Linked DNA regions of Homo sapiens: all the other regions are linked to region 1. Evidence: promoter capture Hi-C in human tissues and cell types (Jung and others, 2019). All regions are on one chromosome and are shown on one strand. Each heading gives the region's core, a stretch centred on a gene start or on the middle of the fragment in contact. The rest is flanking DNA. Distances are from core to core; before and after follow the strand shown. Region 1 holds the start of B3GALT2 (beta-1,3-galactosyltransferase 2). Region 2 has its middle 1.4 Mb from the start of LINC01724. Region 3 has its middle 1.4 Mb from the start of LINC01724. Region 4 has its middle 1.2 Mb from the start of LINC01031. Region 5 has its middle 1.1 Mb from the start of LINC01031.

Evidence for each region. Contacts are between HindIII fragments. The study calls those that stand out against the background at their distance.
Region 2: a contact is called between a fragment that was not itself captured here and the fragment with the promoter of B3GALT2 in region 1, in 1 of the 25 tissues and cell types used here (hippocampus).
Region 3: a fragment that was not itself captured here is called in contact with the fragment with the promoter of B3GALT2 in region 1 in 1 of the 25 tissues and cell types used here (dorsolateral prefrontal cortex).
Region 4: a fragment that was not itself captured here is called in contact with the fragment with the promoter of B3GALT2 in region 1 in 1 of the 25 tissues and cell types used here (dorsolateral prefrontal cortex).
Region 5: a fragment that was not itself captured here is called in contact with the fragment with the promoter of B3GALT2 in region 1 in 1 of the 25 tissues and cell types used here (dorsolateral prefrontal cortex).

The regions. Positions count from the first base shown.
Region 1 is chr1:193,185,243-193,187,904 of GRCh38, forward strand. It overlaps B3GALT2 (beta-1,3-galactosyltransferase 2), which reads right to left and starts at 1,371. Exons shown (of 2, transcript NM_003783.3): 1 at 777-1,371. The region is part of intron 10 of CDC73 (cell division cycle 73); the gene reads left to right. The HindIII fragment of the contact is 2,577 bases long and covers 1-2,319 here.
Region 2 is chr1:194,732,180-194,734,841 of GRCh38, forward strand. No RefSeq gene overlaps it. Among named protein-coding and RNA genes, the nearest start is that of LINC01724, 1.4 Mb to the right of the region's middle. The HindIII fragment of the contact is 4,833 bases long and covers 1-2,662 here.
Region 3 is chr1:194,715,582-194,718,243 of GRCh38, forward strand. No RefSeq gene overlaps it. Among named protein-coding and RNA genes, the nearest start is that of LINC01724, 1.4 Mb to the right of the region's middle. The HindIII fragment of the contact is 5,509 bases long and covers 1-2,662 here.
Region 4 is chr1:194,466,082-194,468,743 of GRCh38, forward strand. No RefSeq gene overlaps it. Among named protein-coding and RNA genes, the nearest start is that of LINC01031, 1.2 Mb to the left of the region's middle. The HindIII fragment of the contact is 3,400 bases long and covers 1-2,662 here.
Region 5 is chr1:194,396,425-194,399,086 of GRCh38, forward strand. No RefSeq gene overlaps it. Among named protein-coding and RNA genes, the nearest start is that of LINC01031, 1.1 Mb to the left of the region's middle. The HindIII fragment of the contact is 6,004 bases long and covers 1-2,662 here.

The DNA.
Region 1 (2,662 bases), core at 121-2,620:
GAATCAGTCTTTTACATAAAATGTAAGCTATTTAAAATAGTTAATTTTTAAAGCCACTATTGATGTCCCTTTGTTTAAAGTTCTATTCATGGTCACTATAATAACACGAGGCTCTATTGTGGGGTTATGCATAAACTCACACTACCTTATGTGATCTTATGTTAATGCTTTCCTTTTAGTATCTTCTTGTAGCTTGGTAATATTTAAAATTTGTTGATACTCTCTTTGGTTGTGTTCATTATCTTCATTTAGGGAGATGTTGGGGAAGATTTTGTTACTAAAAGCTGTTACATATTAAGGTTTTGTTTTAAAAGGACTTTGAAAAAAAAACTCTTAAGGTTTTCCTTGCTACTATTTAATGAAATTTCACTGCATTGTGTCTTTTGATAGCCATTTTTAAGAGAGCATTTAATTTACTAGATAAGGATTCAGTTTGACCTAATTTGATAGAATATTGCTGTGTTTTTTGTAAAGGGCTACAGATTTTTTTTTAAGTTTAATTTCTTAAGGAATCCTTTAAACACATCTTCTTCTTATTTGCCTTTTCCCTCTGATGTCTATTACCCAGAATTACTCCAAGCTACATATTTAGCTGCATAAAGCAGTGACAGCTTGTCTTCTAAACAATGACAAATTTTAAAATCAGATATTAAGAAACCTTTTCATAGTTTCAAGGGCAGTGAGCTGTATGAACTTGCTTATCAGGTATTAGTGCCTCCAGGGCTATAAAAAGGTAACACATTTAAATGACTATCATACACAAGATATTGACATACCTTCCTTGGTCAGGCCATTTATGTGAAGAGGATTATGCCCACTGAAAATACTTTTGGCACGCCATCACTTCAGCAAAAAAGATGCTATCGAACATGCGCACATCCCCCAACAGTCTGCCTCCTGCGATTGCTTTTCACAGTATCCAAAGTGTCCATCTGTCTGCTTGTCTTCGAGTTACCCTCCTTGTTCATATGGGTCCTAGTCTTCTGAAATTTTCCCTTTCTTTCATTTTCTCTCTTTCGTTAAACAAAAGAGCTGTAGTTGCCCGTTCTGCTTGTAGCACTGTTGACTCTTCCCGACAGTTGATGCATTGAAGCTTTTTACATCTGCTATTTTCCTGGCTGGACAATGCAGTGCTGTGTTCTCGTCTCAGTATCCATATTTCTACTAATAACACTGAGCTGCAATGTAAAGCAGCCAGAGCTAAAATGTAGTGCTTCAGTTGTATTGGAAAAGAATAGGATTTACCTCTCTTCTTTCGTTGTTGCCTGGCAGCTGCAGGAAGGATTTTGAGCAGTTTTAATGGGGTTTTAGTCTATAATATGAAATCCACGGTTCCTCAGCTGCTGCACAGGCAGGCAGCAGTTTAAATGTGGGCTTGACAGATGCTCTCTCTGACAGAGCAGAATTTAACGTCACTGCTTGGCTGAATCCCACGTGATTGTTTGCATTCATTTTGACTAAAAACCTAAGGTAGGGAGAAGCTTAGAGATTTTGCTTTTATGTGATAAATTATATATGTTGAATGCAAGTGTAGTGATGAGTGAATAATTTGAAAATGTGATGATTATGAAATGGTTATGATTTTATTTTTTCCAGCTTACTTCCTTTTTTAACTTTATTCTTAAGTACAGGCTTTCTAAGTGTTTTCTGTGTTAGATGTTGGTTTTCATGTTTCTTACATGCTTTTGTAGGGTGTAAGCAGTATAAGCTTTTGTGTGTAAGTTGGTGTAATTTAACCCCTTCAGTGCATTCTCTTCTTGAAGTTTTTTTTCTCTGCTTTCAAATTGCTCTTGATTTTTTACTAATATGTAGTTAAGACCTATGGTTTCTATTGAAACCATGTATCTTTGTAATTTAGATCCCCCCCCCCGTTTTCTGGGGTTTGTATAAATAAGCTGTCTTGGATTACTTTACTAATGCATGATGTGATACAGCCCACTTCTTTTTTGCTCTTATGTGGTTTTTGGTGTTCTTGATGGCAGAAAACTTTATTTTAAATCACTTTTTAATGTTGTCATTTATTTTTTATTTATTTTTCCTTCCCTTTAAAATTACATGTATCGTAGAATTCAGTAAAATGATGTAATAGATATAGCACACTTGTACAGGATCTGGGGGTAATGAGATTTTACTAATTATGTTTACTTATTCTAATGTTTCAGAAAGATTTAATAACTTGCCATGAGGCAGATTTTATTAACACTACACACTCACTGAGATTTTTCTAATATGGTTAGTTTCTGGGGCTGGCACCTTCTTTTCTTACTGCAGAGCAGTAGGGAAGGTTTTTTTAAATTTTTTGTTGTAGTAAAAAGCCTTTATTATCAGTTTTTCCTCTGTGACTCTAGGGACAGTAATTCAGTCCTAGAAAGTTATAGTTTTGGAGCTTAAGCTAAAGGTTAACAGTTATATACATATTCTTCATCTCACTGCCTCCACCATTAATATATGCTATTTCAAATGAATATGAATTTGTTTTCTCTGATATTAAAAAAAATTTTGTCCACATATTTTTGAGCTTTGCTGATGAAATGTGCTTTGTAGTTTTAAGAACCCCACTGTATTAGAAATGTTAGAAGGATCGTTAAAGAAAAAAAAGAATTTTATAAATAGGAAACCTAAAGCCTAGACTGAGCTTTGACTTTTCCTAGTTAAGTTTGAA
Region 2 (2,662 bases), core at 95-2,594, 1.5 Mb after region 1:
GTAGCAGTATATCTAGTGGTCCACCTTCAATCATGAAATTTTTAACCCTCTAAAGCTTGTAGCTCAAGAGATTTTTGACATTTGAACCAAATTTCTGGATTCAGAAAACAGTTTAGTCTGTATTGTTTTAAATATTTAATTTTCTTTGAGATATCATAATTACACATCCATTTATAATTCATTTAATAAATGTTTATTGTTATGCATAATGACTGACATTATGCAGTCATAATGCCTGCCTTGATTATAAAATGATAAGCAAGGCAAACATATTCCTGCCCTCTTGTGCTTAGTAACTAGGGAGTCTCATCAGAGCTTACATGAAAGTAAATAGACAACTTTTGCTTTTCAGTATAGAGTTGAAGAAGGTTTTTCAAATGTATTAGGGCAGCCAGATAATATGTTTATAACAAAGCCCAGAAATCTAGAGGCTTTTCTAAACCCTACATGGACAATCTTTCTGAAAAGAGAAGATACAGAAATTTGGGAATACATGTCAGATACAGAAATTTTGCAAGTTAATTTTCCTAATATACAGTTTATCCACCTACAAAGTAAAGATAATAGTAATGCCTATGCCATACTTTTGGATGAAAATTGTATTATATATTACCTGTAATACATAGTGCCTAGAATATATGTGTGTGTCTGCATGAAACTGATATATTATCGATATTATTATGTATTCAGTGGAGTTCCCAGTGCAAATCATGAGAGAAAGGCTGAATACCAGAGAAAAGGCATAAGGGAGAAAAAGGGAATAAAATTTGACCATCTATTGACCCTCAATAGTTATAAATCCTCAGTAGTTGGGAGGACAAAAGAACTTCAGAGAGTGAGCATATACTAATAAAATAATTTTAAATGCAAAGTTGCAGTTTTAATAAGGTATTCTGACTCACTCCATAAGTCTCTCAAATTCCCACATATTTATCAAAATGTCAGTGCTTTGTGCAATATGTATATAGGCTCACAGGAATAAATGTAACAATGGATATATGTGTATTTATATGTCATATGTGAAGTGTGTGCTTATATATGTAAAGTATATATATATAAGTATATATATAAAGTATGTGTGTATAAATATTTTATACATAGACGCATGCACACACAAACACACACACATATTAATGCAAACCGGCAGGTAAGAAGAAAACTGATACTAGAGTGCATAATGAAAATGTTTCTTTACTTCTTCCTACAGATATCGGCAAAAATCTTGGTCTTGGACAGGACATTTTTCTTCCACACAGTGTGCAATTGGTTTGTTAAACCAAACTTCTACAGATTTCAAGCCCAAATGAATGTCCCAACTCCCATCTCATTTGCATTTGCATAGGTTTATATTTATGAAATCAGACATATATTTGAGGAATATATTTTAATTAATAAATTTATATATTTTAATTAATAAGTTTTTGATAAATTCCTATCACAGTATCTATTTAATAATAAAGACCACAGAAACAATTTTTAAAAGAAATTAGAAAAGCAATTAAAGTGGCCCAAGTACCTTAAGGACAGGAATTCAATTTAGATATATATTCTTGTAATAAAAGCATTCCTGAGAAAAGAGGAAAAATAACCCCTCGAGTGTCATACACATTTATATTTGTAATTTTTTAATTGATTTTGTTTGTTACTTTTAACTTTTATTTTTAAATTCAGGGGTACAAGTGCAGGTTTGCTTGATCTTTTTCTTGTTAAAAAATAAAAAAGATAGAAATTACTAGGGAGACTGACTACTTTTTGTACAAAAATGCTCAATCTCTGTAAAAATATTACCATTAAAAATGAAGCTTGCCAATATCTGTCCACTCTTGTGGTCAATAATATCTATGATATGACCATGTTGTCCTAAGCAAAGTGCTAATTATATACACATATAAGATGAATAATTAGAAACCAGGAAATAACTTTAGAAAAAGAGTAACATAACATTTGGAGTATCAGCAAGGTGCGTTGGTAAATATTTTTATTGCTAGTCAGATACGTTGATCAAGTATGTAGGAGAGACATACAGAGTTAGATTTAAGAATCTTCAGCAATTTAACAATGATTATAGATTTGCATATAGGAAAGATTTTTTTAGGAGAAGAATTTTAGATATTTGCTTTCTATTTGTTTTTCCAACATGTGAATATTTTTTCATATATTTAAGATATTCTCACCTATTGTATAAACTCAAATCATTGGTTTCTCTGTTTCCAATGCAACGTCCCAGGGCACAGACCTATGAACAAGTCTCTATCAGGTAGAGGCTATTGATTAGATCATGCTCCTCTATTCTACAATGCCTTTTTTCTTGCAAAGGCTGAATATTTAAAAATTATATTGTTCTGAAATAATTGCAGCTAGCATTCAGATATAAAAAGATTCTCCAAACTGTATGCACTCTCCTAATTTTTGGCAATTAGAACTAAAGAGATGTGAGAGTTGCCTTCTTGTTTTTTCTAAGGTTGTTTCTTTGCTGATTCAAAGAATTTTCAACTGAACATGTTCTAGCCAGGAGAAAGAGGAGAGGAAAGAAGAGAAATATGGATTTCTTCAAATATGGATTTCTTCTTAGAGGCATTAAATACAGATTTTCATCAGTTTTCTAGGTCTAAGTTGCTTCTAGCTAGCCATGTACCAAATAGAACCCAGGAGTGGTATCGTT
Region 3 (2,662 bases), core at 50-2,549, 1.5 Mb after region 1:
TCTAAATACATTCACAAATACTGCTAGTTTTCCATTTCTGTATCACTGTTAACACAGTATAATGGGTGGTACAGTAGATGAAAATATAGGTTGCCTGAATTCAAATCTTAGTTCTAACATGTACTAAATTCATTGAATTTGGGAACATTTATCAACTATTTAGGTTTCAAAGCTGAAATATAGAGAAAACAGTAACTTTGAGGTAAATCACTTCTTTTTTCCCGCTTTTATTTTAGGTTCAGGGAGTACATGTGCAGGTTTGTTCCACGGGTAAATTACGTGTCACTGAGGTTTGGTTTATGTATTATCTCATCACCCAGGTACTGAACATGGTACCTGATAGGTAGCTTCACAACACTCTTCTCTAGCCTTCCCCCACTAGTAGTCTTCAGTATTTTTTTTTTTTTTTTTTGAGATGGAGCCTCACCTTGTTACTCAGGCTGGAGTGCAGTGGTGCGATCTCAACTCACCACAACCTCTGCTTCAGGGTTCAAATGATTCTCATGCCTCAGCCTCTCAAGTACATGGGGCTACAGGCATGCGCCACCATACCCGGCTAATTTTTGTTTTTTTAGTAGAGATGAGGTTTTTGCCATATTGGCCAGGCTGGTCTCGAACTCTTGACCTCAAGTGATCCACCCACCTGGGCCTCCCAAAGTGCTGGGATTACAGGCGTGAACCATGGCACCTGGCCCTCCTCAGTGTCTACTGTTCCAATCATTACATCCATATGTACTTAATGTTTAGCTCCCACTTATAAGTGATAACATATGGTATTTGGTTTTCTGTTCCTGTGTTAATTCACTTAGGTTAGTGGCCTCCCATTGCATCCACGTTGCTGCGAAGAACATGATTTCATTCTTTTGATAGTTGTGTAGTATTCTATGGTGTATATGTGTTCCATTTTGTTTATCCAGTCCCTCACTGATGGCCATCTAGGCTGATTCCATGTCTTTGCTATTGTGAATAGTGTTTCCATGAACATTTGAGTGCATGTGTCTTTTTGATAGAGTAATTTATTTCCCTTTGTGTACATTCCCAGTAATGGGATTGCTTGTTTGAATGGTAGCTCTCTTTTAAGTTCTTTGAGAAATCTCCAAACTGCTTTCCATAGTGGCTAAACTAATTTACATTCTTACAAACAGTGTATAAGCCTTCCCTTTTCTCTGCAATTTCACCAACATAGGTTATTTTATGACTTTTTAATAATTGCCATTCTGACTGGTGTGAAATGGTATCTCACCGTGGTTTTGATTTGCATTTCTCTAATGATTAGATGATTAATGATTAGTGTCTTCTTTTGAGAACTGTCTGTTCACGTCCTTGGCCCATCTTTTAAGAAGGTTATTTGGTTTTTGTTTGTAGAATTGCTTACATTCCTTATAGATTCTGGACATTAGATCTCTGTCAGATGTGTAGTTTGTGAATATCTCTCCCATTCTGCAGGTTGTCTGTTTACTCTCTTAATAGTTTCTTTATCTGTGCAGAAGCTTTTTAGTTTAATTAGGTCCCACTTGTCATTTTTTTGTTGTTGCGATTGCTTTTGGTGACTTAATCACAAAATCGACAGTAACAAAGAGTGGAGAAAGGACCCCCTATTTAATAAGTGGTGTTGGGATAACTGGCTAGCCCATATGCAGAAGATTAAAACTGAACCCCTACATTTTACCATATGGAAAAATTAACTCAAGACAAATCAAAGACTTAACTGAGACCCTAAACTATGAAAATCCTAGAAGAAAACCTAGGAAATACCACTCTGGACATGTCATGTATATTGAGAGCTAAAAGGTGTTTTTTTTTTTCTCTGAAATTTTGCCAGTGCAATTAAAGCAAATATGCAAAAACTATTTATAAAAAAATTATTTTGATCCATGGCTAAAGAACCCACAGAATGGAAAATTGTTGTGTCTGCCACTCCGAGCTTTCTTAAAATAGAGCAATGAGCAATGACACTGAGTACATGGTATGCCTGTAAGTTGCAAGAACCTTTGTACAAAACTCTTGTGTGTTTGAACACATTAAAAATAGATAATGTAATTTTGTCAAATATATATATATATGTATACACACACACACACACTTATGTATATACCCATATGTATACTTATATATATTATACTTCCATATAGGTATATTTGGAAATATACACGCAGGTATAATATATAGAGAGACATATGTACATTCAAAAGGAGTGGGGGAGAGAGAGAGAGACTTGTATAGGCAATTTTCTACTATTTTCTTGTCTGTGTGAGCTTTTCCCAAATAAAGTATCAGGGTAGTATAAATAGTTATTAGTTGGTTTAAGATTAAACAGAAAGAGAAATGCCAACTGAATGGTGAATTTAGAATTCAATAACTAAGCTCAAAAGCCATCAAAATGCATTGTTTTTATGCATATCACTTTAGCTGTTTTTTTTTTTCTGGTAATATCTGAATTTAGATGGAGCCATAGGAGAATTGCATAGAACATAGTCTATATTAAGGAGTTGGATTTTATTCCCATGGAAACATTTTGGCAATGAGTTATGCAAAAGAAAATGACTAAGCATTTTAGAATCTGATGCTGCTCTGTTTAATTGTTTTTAAAATGTTCAAGAGCTTTAAACAATTTAAATGATTGAAATTCGAACTGTTTAGATGAACTGCCTAATAAGCTGCA
Region 4 (2,662 bases), core at 78-2,577, 1.3 Mb after region 1:
ACATGGTAATGGAAATAAAGTGTTTAGTGTGCAATCAGAAAACTGGGCACAGAAGAGGAAAGAATCAGTAAGCTAGAAGACAAGTTAATAAAAGTTATTCAAAGTGGAACACAGAAAAAAAGATACAAAAACACCCAGAGCAGAGCATCTGAGATTTGCATATCAAATAGTTTAACATTGAAGAGTCTCCAATGAAGTAGGGTCTCATAATTTATTAAAGAATTGATCATTTCATCTATTTTTATCATTTTTTATATAATACTGTCAGATCATCAGATTGATGATTTGGAACTGTAGTTATAATGTAATAGGCATTTAAAATCTACTAACAATTTGCAATGTCCTTTAAGTTTGAGGTTGAGTGCCACAAAATTATCAGACCAAGAATAAAAGGGCAGAGATAGAAATATATCAAACCATAATTTTTTCTGATACCTTGAATATGGATTTAAAGAAACATAATCAGATCTATTTCATTTAACAAGGATTTATTGAATATTTTCTCTCATGCATATTTTTATGTGTATTTGAACAAGATTTGCTTTGTGGTTGGTCATATTCAATATATAGAATTGCATTCTCTTATTTCTTTTAAGTTGGGAGAACATCAACTTGACCCTGAAATTTTCTATTTGCTATATTCTTCATGTACCTATATTTTGTTTACATTAATCTTATTTCAGTGCTCTTAAAATATACTTGTGGCAGCAACTAGATAATTCATCAAGCCTGTTAACTTCGTTATTCTGGTTAAGACGTGCACCGTTTCCAGGCTTGACCCCAAAACGCTTCCTACTGCATCTTCCAATTGCTCTCATCTCCCATCTAGTGGCTGCATAATATCAGAGCATCCCCTTCTCTGGATACAGTGTGTATCAATTTCCTGACCCTATTCTCACTCCAGCACTCACAATCACTACCAAGTAGAATTTATGTGAATGAGAAATAGCAATCTCCCAGACAAAATCATTGAACCTCCATGTACATCTGTACAGCTTGTGCTACTCTAACTGGTATAATGCTTCATACTTTTTGTTGAGTTTTATAATAAAAAACATGGTAATAGATAAGTCAAGAAGAAAAGGTTAAACATGGTGTTCCTCCTCATTGCTAAGCTTTTTGTGAAATTGTGTGATATTTTTATTATTATTCTGAGATCACTCTACTTTATGTTTAAAGTTGTGTCTCTACTCAACCCACAAAAATACTCTCCCATTACAGTAGATATTTTCTTTGTACCTTCTGCGATACTTAATACTTTCATGTGTTTAGCTCTTGGCAAATAAATGTTATTCTTAATGAACAAATGAAATGAGTAAATATTTGAATATACTATTTAGTCAACTGAGTTAATATATTTTATTTTTATAGCAAACTATGAGAACATATTTATACATATACATTGTTTTACTTTACAGAAAATCTCCAAAAGAGACATGTAGGTTTAAAGCAAAAAAAAAAAAAAAAAAATAAGAAGAAAGGCAGTAGTATTGTTCATTACTTTTTGACTGAGTAGTCAAAACCAAACATTTATAAAACACCTTCCTTATTTAAGGTGTTTGGTTAAGTGGTGATTATATAGTCATGTCTTTGCTAATTACACAATCTAGTTAGAAAATCAGACAAGTAAAAATTACACACAGAAAAAGTGACATTAATAGAAAAGCACTATTACAAAGAAAATTACATATTAATAATGGAGTACTAGGCTCAGAAATTAAATTTTTCATAGTATGAAGACAGTTTTAGAGGAATTCTCATAGGAAATGAATTTTAGCTGAATCTGAGAGATGACGATCAAGAAAAGAGAAAACAGGGTTTTCCCAAGCTAAAAACCCAGTGGCATGTGAACAGACAGGAAGCTTTAAGAGAAAGCAGTATCTCTTTCAGTAAGGACAATATTTCCGAAGAGTAAGTGGAGAATTGTGGTCGGCATAGTCCAAACTCTGAAGTTCTAAGGATGTCGTTCCAAGGATTTGGGGGCGTTAGTGGGAAAACCACTGGATGCTAACAACATACCTTAGTCCAGAAGGGGACATGATCACTTTTACCAACTTCTCACTGTGTTCTATAACACTGGTGCCAACCATGACAACTCATCAGAAAAATCAAAAGCTTCCTAGCAGTTGTCTCATTTTTACTTTCATTCTGCAGTCTAATTTTTATATTGTAGCCAGAGTATTTCACTCTAATCTAAGTCTGATAATATTTCTTCCATGCTTAAAAAACTCCAGTAGATCACACTGAAATTAGAATGAAAAAATAAAATTCACTTTTTTACCATAACCCACATAAACGGAACACTGTCTATCTCTCTGAAGTCATATCCTACTTCCTTCCCTCGTATTTACTGTTTCATTGCTGAACTGGCACTTTTTCTTTATTAAAACAAATTGTATCTTATTGATTTTTTTTTCCTTAGGCATCAGACACACAAATTGAGACGATTTGTTCATAGCACCTTTTAATCACCAGAGTCTATGCAAGGTCTGTGTTTGATTTTTAATATTTAGTTGATTCATTCATTCATTGATTCCACTCAATTTTGTAGCCATCTCCCACTATCCTCTCCCCATATGAAAGTAACAAATTTTATGTATTTAATATGTATTTTTATAAGACTATACTCTTACAAAAGGAGGATATTTATTATTGTGCATAT
Region 5 (2,662 bases), core at 117-2,616, 1.2 Mb after region 1:
TCCATCATTCCCTAGTACTTTTTGGTTATTAAAAGTTCATCTAGGCTGGTGTGATGGCTCATGCCTGTTAATTCCAGCACTTTGGGAGGGCAAAGCGGGCAGATTACTTGAACTCAGGAGTTTGAGACCAGCCTGGGGAACATGGTGAAACCCTGTCTCTACAAAAAATAAATTTAAAAAAATTGTCTGGTGTGGTGGTGCACACAAGTAGCCCCAGCTACATTGGAGGCTGAGGTGGGAGAATCAACTGAGCCCTGAAGTCAGTGAGCTGTGATGACACTGTTGCACTCCAGCCTGGGTGACACAGTTAATACCATAATAAAGTGAGTCCACAAATTTTTTGGTTTCCCAGTGAATTCCAAAGTTATGTTTATACCATAGCATAGTCTATTAAGTGCATAATAGCATTGTGTCTAAAAATCAATGTGTAGACCCTTTATTTAAATTTTTTTATTGTTCTAAAATGCTAAAAATCATCTTTTCCTTCAGTGAGTCATAATCCTTTCGCTGGTGGAGGATCATGCTTAAAACTTAATGGCTGTAGACTGATTGGGACGGTGGTTGCTGAAGGTTGAAGTGGCTGCAGCAATTAGTTCAAGACAACAATAAAGTTTGTCACATTGATTGACTCTTCCATTCACATACAATTTCTCTGTAGCATTCAATGCTTTTTCTTAGCATTTACCCACAGTAGAACTTCTTTCAAATAGGAATAATCTTCTCAAATCCTTTAGGTACTTATCAAGTAAGTTTATGTAATATTCTGAATCATATGTTGTCCTTTCAACGACGTTCACAGCATCCTCATCAGGGTTGGATTCCATTTTAAGAAACCACATTTCTTGTTGATCCATAAAAGCAACACTTCATCTGGTCAAGTTTTATTATGAGATTGCAGGAATTCAGTCACACCTAACTGGCACAAGAGGTCAAGTTTTTAGCCTGTCATGACCTTTGACATGTCATCCACACTAGGCATAATCATTTCAAGCTTTTGATTTAAAATGAAAGGTATAAAACTTTTCCTTACCCTTGAATACTTAGCATCTAGAATGGTGAATACTTAATAGCATCTATAATGGGTTATTAATTGGCCTAATTTCAATATCTTTATATCTCAGGAAATAGGGAGACCCCGGACAAGGGAAAGAGATTGGGAATAACTGGTTGTTGAGCAGTCAGAACACACAAAACATTTATCAGTTCAGTTCACTGTGTTATCTGGACATGGTTTGTGGTATCCCCAAACAATTATAATAGTAACATCAAAGATCACTGACCACAAATCATCATTAGTGATATTATAATAATGAAAGAGTTTGGAATATTATGGGGATTACCAAAATGAAATACAAAGACATGAAGTGAGCATATGTTGTTGGAAAAATGAGGCTAATTAACTTCCTTGCTGGTTGCAGAGTTACCACAAACAATTTGTAAAAAATGCAATATTCAGCCGTGCACGGTGGCTTAGGCCTGTAATCCTAGCACTTTGGGAGGCCAAGGCGGGCAGATCACGAGGTCAGGAGATTGAAACCATCCTGGCTAACACGGTGAAACCCCGTCTCTACTAAAAATACAAAAAATTAGCCAGGCGTGGTGGCGGGCGCCTGTGGTCCCAGCTACTGGGGAGGCTGAGGCAGGAGAATGGCGTGAACATGGGAGGTGGAGCTGACAGTGAGCCGAGATCGCGCCACTGCACTCCAGCCTGGTTGAAAGAGCAAGACTCCGTCTCAAAACAAAAAAAAAAAAAAAAGAAAGAAAAGAAAAAAAAGCAATATTCAATTAGGAAAAAGTGTATATATGCAAAGCACAATAAAGCACAGTGCAATAAAATATGCCATGCTTCTATTTTGAAACAGGAATGGTGGTGATGCTTCCAACTTTTTTTTTCTTTTTCTTTTTCCTCTGTATTGCTTTGACTACTTGGGGTTTCTTTTTTGGTTCCATAAGAATTTTAGCATTTTTTTTCTATTTCTGTGAAGAATACCATTGGAATTTTCATAGGGATTGTGTTAAATTTGTATATTGTTTTAAGTATTATTAACATTTTAGCAATTTGAGTTCTCAGCCATAAACCCAGTATATATTTACATTTTTTGTGTCTTTTTCAATGTTTTTCATCAATGCTTTATAGCTTTCTGTGTACAAATCTCTCATTTCCTAGATTAAATTTATTCCTAGGTATTTGTTTTGATGCTACCATAAATGGGATTATTTTCCTTATTTTCTTCAGGTAGGCTGTTATTTGTATATAAAAATGCTATTAATTTTTGTATGTTGATTTTTTGTTCCTGCAACTTTACTGAATTTTTTAGTTCTAACAGTTTCTCTCTCTTTCTCTCTCTCTGTGTGTGTGTGTGTGTGTCTGTGTGTGTGTGTGTGTGTGTGTGTGTGTGCATGTGAAATCTTTGGGGTTTTCTATATATAGGATCATGTCATCTACAAATAAACTATTTTATTTATTCCTTTCCAATTTGAATGCTTTTTTTTCTGGCCTGATTGCTATTGTTAGCACTGCTAGTTCTTTGTTGACTAGAAGTGGTGATAGTGGACATACTTCTTTTTATATAAAATTTTAAAATTTTCTTCTTAATTTCTTCCTTGACTCATTGGTCATGTTGTTTCATTTCCACATGTTTGCATATTTTCTAAGGTTCCT